2 separate regions of the Homo sapiens genome follow, and region 2 is linked to region 1. The links are contacts of gene promoters, found by promoter capture Hi-C in blood cells and fetal thymus (Javierre and others, 2016). All regions are on one chromosome and are shown on one strand. The core of a region is centred on a gene start or on the middle of the fragment in contact, and the rest is flanking DNA. Distances in the headings are between cores, read along the strand shown.

Region 1 (3,614 bases), core at 44-2,543:
GTAGGCAATTGTGGGTTTTTTTGATTCAGGCTATTCCTGGGATACTGTAGGCAATTGTAACGCAATGGTAAGTATTTGTGTATCTAAACATAGAAAAGGTACAGTAAAAATATGGTATAATCTTATGGGACCACCATAGTGTATGTGGCCTGTCGTTAACTGAAACATCATTATGCAGTGCATGACTGTATGAAGGATTTCTCTTCTGTGAGGTGTAACAGAATGGACTGGCTGAGGAAAAAGGGGTCACGGGCATGCGTGCACATGCACTCTGTCTGTGACTAATAGAATGGTGCTCAGAGTTCCTCACCTTTTACTCCTAACGCAGCCTATTGCAGGCTAGGGATCTCAGAGAAACTACCTTCAAGGGACCTTTTGCTGACACTTAACCAAACTTAGAAGGGTGGGCCATGTGTAAGAGAGGCAGTATGGCCACTGATGTTATTTATTTTTCAACAGCGAGAACTTTCAAAGGCTTCCAAATCTGATGCTACTTCTGGAATCCTCAATTCAACCAACATCCAGTCCTGAGAAGCCCTGATCAGTCAACCAGCTGTGGCTTCCTGTGCCTAGACTGGACCTAATTATATGGGGGTGACTTTAGTTTTTCTTCAGCTTAGGCGTGCTTGAAACCTTGGCCAGGTTCCATGACCATGGGCCTAACTTAAAGATGTGAATGAGTGTTACAGTTGAAAGCCCATCATAGGTTTAGTGGTCCTAGGAGACTTGGTTTTGACTTATATACATGAAAAGTTTATGGCAAGAAGTGCAAATTTTAGCATATGGGGCCTGACTTCTCTACCACATAATTCTACTTGCTGAAGCATGATCAAAGCTTGTTTTATTTCACCACTGTAGGAAAATGATTGACTATGCCCATCCCTGGGGGTAATTTTGGCATGTATACCTGTAACTAGTAATTAACATCTTTTTTGTTTAGGCATGTTCAATTAATGCTGTAGCTATCATAGCTTTGCTCTTACCTGAAGCCTTGTCCCCACCACACAGGACAGCCTTCCTCCTGAAGAGAATGTCTTTGTGTGTCCGAAGTTGAGATGGCCTGCCCTACTGCCAAAGAGGTGACAGGAAGGCTGGGAGCAGCTTTGTTAAATTGTGTTCAGTTCTGTTACACAGTGCATTGCCCTTTGTTGGGGGTATGCATGTATGAACACACATGCTTGTCGGAACGCTTTCTCGGCGTTTGTCCCTTGGCTCTCATCTCCCCCATTCCTGTGCCTACTTTGCCTGAGTTCTTCTACCCCCGCAGTTGCCAGCCACATTGGGAGTCTGTTTGTTCCAATGGGTTGAGCTGTCTTTGTCGTGGAGATCTGGAACTTTGCACATGTCACTACTGGGGAGGTGTTCCTGCTCTAGCTTCCACGATGAGGCGCCCTCTTTACCTATCCTCTCAATCACTACTCTTCTTGAAGCACTATTATTTATTCTTCCGCTGTCTGCCTGCAGCAGTACTACTGTCAACATAGTGTAAATGGTTCTCAAAAGCTTACCAGTGTGGACTTGGTGTTAGCCACGCTGTTTACTCATACAGTACGTGTCCTGTTTTTAAAATATACAATTATTCTTAAAAATAAATTAAAATCTGTATACTTACATTTCAAAAAGATATAGTGTGGTGTTTCCTTTTTTTCCCCAGTCACTTTTTAGTTGGTTGGTCTGTGTGTGAAAAACAAACACAAAAAACTAAAAGGACCTCCTGGAAATTTTTAGTCAGGAGTGTGATTTTTTTTTTTGAGTCTCACTCTGTCGCCCAGGCTGGAGTACAGTGGCACTATCTTGGTTCAGTGCAACTTCCACCTCCCAGGTTCAAGCGATTCTCCTGCCTCAGCCTCCCGATTTGCTGGGATTACAGGCACGCACCATCACACCTGGCTAATTTTTGTATTTTTAGTAGAGACAGGCTTTCACCATGTTGGCCAGGCTGGTCTTGAACTCCTGACCTCAGATGATCTGCCTGCCTCCCAAAGTGCTGGGATGACAGGCATGAGCCACAGCACCCGGCCGAGTGTGATTTTTAAAATATTCTCTGGTACATTTCTAAATTAAGAATATCTCTTACTCTAATTTTTTGGTGAGAAATATAAAACCTAACCCCTGATGTGTAGAGAGCAAAGGGAGTCCTAGGATGCTTCTGGCTTCAATGCCGTTTGTCTCAATATGGGGAGGCTGCCCAACTTCAACAGCGTTACTGAAGGAGGATGGACATAAACTGCACACATGTGAAGCGTAAGAGAAAAACCATCGCCACAGTCCAGTTAACCAAGTCTCTCTACCCCAGCAGTTCTTCCCACCCCTTTCTCACTCCTCCTTCCCAGCCTCACCCTGCCGAGCAACCACTGATTTTTTTTTTTTTTTTTTTTTTTTTTTTTGAGATGGAGTCTCGCTCTTGCCAGGCTGGAGTGCAGTGGCACAATCTCAGCTCACTGCAATCTCTGCCTCCCAGGTTCAAGGGATTCTCCTGCCTCAGCCTCCCGCGTAGCTGGGACTGCAGGCACGTGCCATCACGCCTGGTAAATTTTTGTATTTTTGGTACAGACAGACAGGGTTTCACTGTATTAGCTAGGATGGTCTCGATCTCCTGACCTCATGATCCGCCCACCTCGGCCTCCCAAAGTGCTAGGACTACAGGCATGAGCCACTGTACCTGGCCCACCGATTTGTTACTACAGATTAGTTTGCGTTTTCTACAGTTCGATGTAAGTAGAATCATACAGTATATATTTTTTTGGTCTGGTTCTTTCACTACTTTCAGATTTACCCATATTGTTGCTTATATCCATAATTCTTTTTTTTTTTTTTTTTTTTTTTTTTTTTTTTTTTTGCTTAGTATTCCATGGTGTTGATATACCAGTTTATTCGCCTGTTAGGTTTATTTTTCACATTTGGCTTTTCTCCAGTTTTTGGCTATTAAAAACAAGGCTGTTATAAACATTCATGTACAAGTCTTTGTATGGATATATTTTTTTTTCTGGATAAATACCTAGGAGTGAAATGGCTGGATCACATCTATGGTATGTGTACACTTAACTTTTTAAGAAATGCCAAACTGGGCCGGGCATGGTGGCTCACGCCTGTAATCCCAGCACTTTGGGAGGCTAAGGTGGGCAGATCACGAGGTCAGGAGTTCGAGACCAGCCTGGCCAACATGGTGAAACCCCATCTCTACTAAAAATACAAAAATTAGCTGGCTGTGGTGGCACACACCTGTAATCTCAGCTATTCAGGAGGCTGAGGAAGGAGAATTCCTTGAACTCAGGAGGCGGAAGTGGCAGTGAGCTGAGATTGCACCACTGCACTCTAGCCTGGGCAACAGAGCAAGACTCCATCTTAAAAAAGAAGAAATGCCAAACTGTTTTCCAAAGCAGTTGTACCATTTTACATTCCTACCAGTAATGTATGAAGGTTCCAGTTTCTCCACATCTTCACCAACAGTTGGTATGTTCAGCCTTTATGTAATTCTAGTTATTCTGTGTATGGAGTGGTGTCTCACTATGGTTTTCATTTACAACTCCCTAATGACTAATGATGTAGAGCATCTTCTCATATGCTCACTTGCTATCCTTCTGTCGTCTTTGTTGACTTTTGTCCATTTTAAA
Region 2 (3,394 bases), core at 39-2,538, 880 kb after region 1:
TCATGGGGGTGCCTTTGAAGCCCTGGAGTCCTTGACAATAGAAAAGCTTGCTGGAGTTGACATGTGGATTTGGGAGCATTCAGAAATTAATCAAAAAGCTTGAAAGTGGCCTAAGAGAGTAGCTGCAAAAGTGATTGTTGGGAAATAGCTGACCACAGCTTTATTGTTTTCCTTGAATGTGCCTCCGGGTCACGAGCCAGGCTGGGTGGCAGGCTGTGGGGGACCACAGGACTCTGTGGCCTCTTGGGCCCTGTGGGCCACAGGCTGTGGGGCGCCTGGAGCTGGTGACACAGATGGATGTTAATGTGCTGGTGATAGCCACCCTCCAGTGCCCTCCAGCCCTGTGCTGGGCCCTGGAGACCCACAGGAGGGTGAAGAGACCTGGAACAGTCCCTGTCCTCCCAGTTGCAGCTGGGGGAGGCTGAGTAGAGCCACGAACTATGGCAGCTACAATATTGGGTTGTAGAGGGCAGCAGGGCTCAGCTGGGTGGCCCCAGGAGAGGCGAGGCCCTGAGAGAAAGGCTTTCTACCCTCCAGGCTTTGGCTCCCTTGGCCTGATGACGTCCGTCCTGGTCTGCCCTGATGGGAAGACGATTGAGGCTGAGGCCGCTCATGGGACCGTCACCCGCCACTATCGGGAGCACCAGAAGGTGAGTGCAGGGCATGGGGCCTCACAATGCCCCTCTACCCCAGGGGCCTAAAGCCCACTGGGCTGAGGGCTGGAAGGACGAGCCTGACCCACCAGCCCAGGGGCGGGCAGCTGTATCTGGGCAGCCTCCTCACTAGCTGGCTCGGCTCTTGATCTCCCTGCAACCCCCGTCCCCAGGGCCGGCCCACCAGCACCAACCCCATCGCCAGCATCTTTGCCTGGACACGTGGCCTGGAGCACCGGGGGAAGCTGGATGGGAACCAAGACCTCATCAGGTGAGCATGGAGGGAGAGGCCGGAGCTGCCCAGGACAGGCTCTGGGTCCTGCCCTTGCACAGATGGGGTCTCATTCTGCCCCATCCCCATAGGTTTGCCCAGATGCTGGAGAAGGTGTGCGTGGAGACGGTGGAGAGTGGAGCCATGACCAAGGACCTGGCGGGCTGCATTCACGGCCTCAGCAAGTGCGTGGCCTGGGGTGGTAGGCAGACCCTGGGGCCATGTGGGAGGAAGCCAGGGGACCCCTCCTAAAGTCCCCCTCATGAGTCAGCTTAGCTGCAAGGGGGCCTGGGGCAGGACATGTCCACAGCCCTGAGAGACTGCTCAGGCCAGCCTCTGTAGACCAGGTCTAGTGAGTTCCTCCCCATCCCTGAGGCTGGCTACTCAGAGCTCCTTCCGACCCTGCCCACACCCCTTTCCCAGCTTCTCTCAGGAGAGCAGTTACCTGGCAAGACAGACCCTGCGGGTGCCTGCCGAATCTCGGTGGCCTCATGGTAGGGGGCTATAGCTGGCCTCTGGCCTGTAGTCTGGGTGGCAGGAGATGGCTGTTCTGATGCCCAAGCTCAGGCTGTTCCCTGGAAGGGCCTGGCTGATGGCCTTGGCAAGGCCTGGAGCCACCCCTGATGTGAGTGGTGCTCTCTCTGCAGTGTGAAGCTGAACGAGCACTTCCTGAACACCACGGACTTCCTCGACACCATCAAGAGCAACCTGGACAGAGCCCTGGGCAGGCAGTAGGGGGAGGCGCCACCCATGGCTGCAGTGGAGGGGCCAGGGCTGAGCCGGCGGGTCCTCCTGAGCGCGGCAGAGGGTGAGCCTCACAGCCCCTCTCTGGAGGCCTTTCTAGGGGATGTTTTTTTATAAGCCAGATGTTTTTAAAAGCATATGTGTGTTTCCCCTCATGGTGACGTGAGGCAGGAGCAGTGCGTTTTACCTCAGCCAGTCAGTATGTTTTGCATACTGTAATTTATATTGCCCTTGGAACACATGGTGCCATATTTAGCTACTAAAAAGCTCTTCACAAAATTGTCTGCTGTGTTTGTCCCTGAGGGGAGGAGGTAGTGGGACCCTGAGGCAGAGGCCCTGCTAGAGCTGGCAGGTTCCCCTGGGGCAGACCAGAGCACCTCAGGAAGGGGCTGCCACGGCAGGGAAGGGACCAGGCAGCCCTGGGAGCCCGCATTCCACAGGGGCCCACTGCGGAGTTCTCGGACACTCAGGGCACAGGCCTGTGGGTTCCCTGGAATTTTCTAGCATGATCCAGTTTCTGTGTCCAGTTCTCCATTCTGAGAGTCAATCAGTTCCTGATAGGTTGTCATTGATTTTTTTCTTCGTTGGTTTTAACCTTCTAAACATCTCCAGGCCACTTTCTTAGCCTTTTTCTAGGTACTAAAAAGAGGTCCTACCCACACCTGCCTCACACTTCTCCTTTCCAAGGCTGCCTGAGTTTGGAGGGGCTTGGGTGTGTGTGAACAAGGGCCCTGCATTGTCTAGGCCTGCAGTTCCCAGGCTTGGGTTCACTTTCACCATGCATTGGCAAAACTAGAAAAGTAAGCTTGTGACAAATTGTTCTCGGCCGGGCACAGTGGCGCACGCCTATAATCCCTGTACTTTGGGAGGCTGAGGTGGGTGGATCACTTGAGGCCAGGAGTTCGAGACCAGCCTGGCCAACATGGTGAAACCCCATCTCTACTCAAAATACAAAAATTAGCCAGGCGTGGTGATGCGCACCTGCAGTCCCAGCTACTCGGGAGGCTGAGGCAGGAAAATGGCTTGAACCTGGGAGGCAGAGGTTGCAGTGAGCCGAGACTGCACCACTGCACTCCAGCCTGGGTGACAGAGCAAGACTCTGTCTCAAAAAAAAAAAAAAAAAAAAAAAAAAAAAAATTGCTCTATGCAAGTTTTTTAGCCCCATGTAAAAAGGAAAAATAAAAGTTGCTCTAAAGCTACATATAATCAAAAGGACTGTCCTCTGCATAGTAAGTTCTGCAAAGCTTCTTCTTTTTGGTGTTAAAATGTCCTGGAGAAGAGTTGTATAATCTTTATAAAGTCCTGGCCAGGTGTGGTGGCTCATGCCTATAGTCCCAGCACTTTGGGAGGCCAAGGTGGGAGGATCACTTGAGCCCGGGAGTTTGAGGCTGTAGTGAGCTATGACTGCACCACTGTACTCCAGCCTGAGTAACAGAGTGAGACCCCATCTCTCAAAACCCCATCTTACAAAGTCCCTTTCCTAAATACTGGGGGGACTCCTATGGCTCCTGAAACCCGACCATTGCGGTAGACTGAGTGGCTTTGGAAGGGCTCTAGCCCTCCATCCACACTGGTGACCCCCCGCTTGCTTTTCCTGAGTAATGCCCTGAAACTCTCAGGGCTATAAGAAGAAACGTGGACTGCTGGCTCTAGCAGGCCCAGCCCCTGGGAGGAAGCTCAAGGCTTCCTGCCTCTTCTTGCCTGTCACCAGCACGGGGCTGGCAGC

The links. The method cuts DNA at HindIII sites, captures the fragments that hold promoters and counts their contacts. A CHiCAGO score of 5 or more calls a contact.
Region 2: a contact is called between a fragment that was not itself captured here and the fragment with the promoter of PRC1-AS1 in region 1, in 1 of 17 cell types (total B cells). The highest score is 5.1, in total B cells.

Annotation. Positions count from the first base shown.
Region 1 is chr15:90,964,048-90,967,661 of GRCh38, reverse strand. It overlaps PRC1-AS1 (PRC1 antisense RNA 1), which reads right to left and starts at 1,293. Exons shown (of 4, transcript NR_051984.1): 1 at 984-1,293. It overlaps PRC1 (protein regulator of cytokinesis 1), which reads left to right. Exons shown (of 15, transcript NM_003981.4): 15 at 460-1,622. The coding sequence ends at 531. The HindIII fragment of the contact is 668 bases long and covers 838-1,505 here.
Region 2 is chr15:90,082,531-90,085,924 of GRCh38, reverse strand. IDH2 (isocitrate dehydrogenase (NADP(+)) 2) reads left to right here. Exons shown (of 11, transcript NM_002168.4): 8 at 538-650; 9 at 827-924; 10 at 1,017-1,109; 11 at 1,572-2,880. The coding sequence ends at 1,659. Among named protein-coding and RNA genes, the nearest start is that of ZNF710-AS1, 2.0 kb to the right of the region's middle. RefSeq lists enhancers at 946-1,446, 1,447-1,947. The HindIII fragment of the contact is 2,375 bases long and covers 101-2,475 here.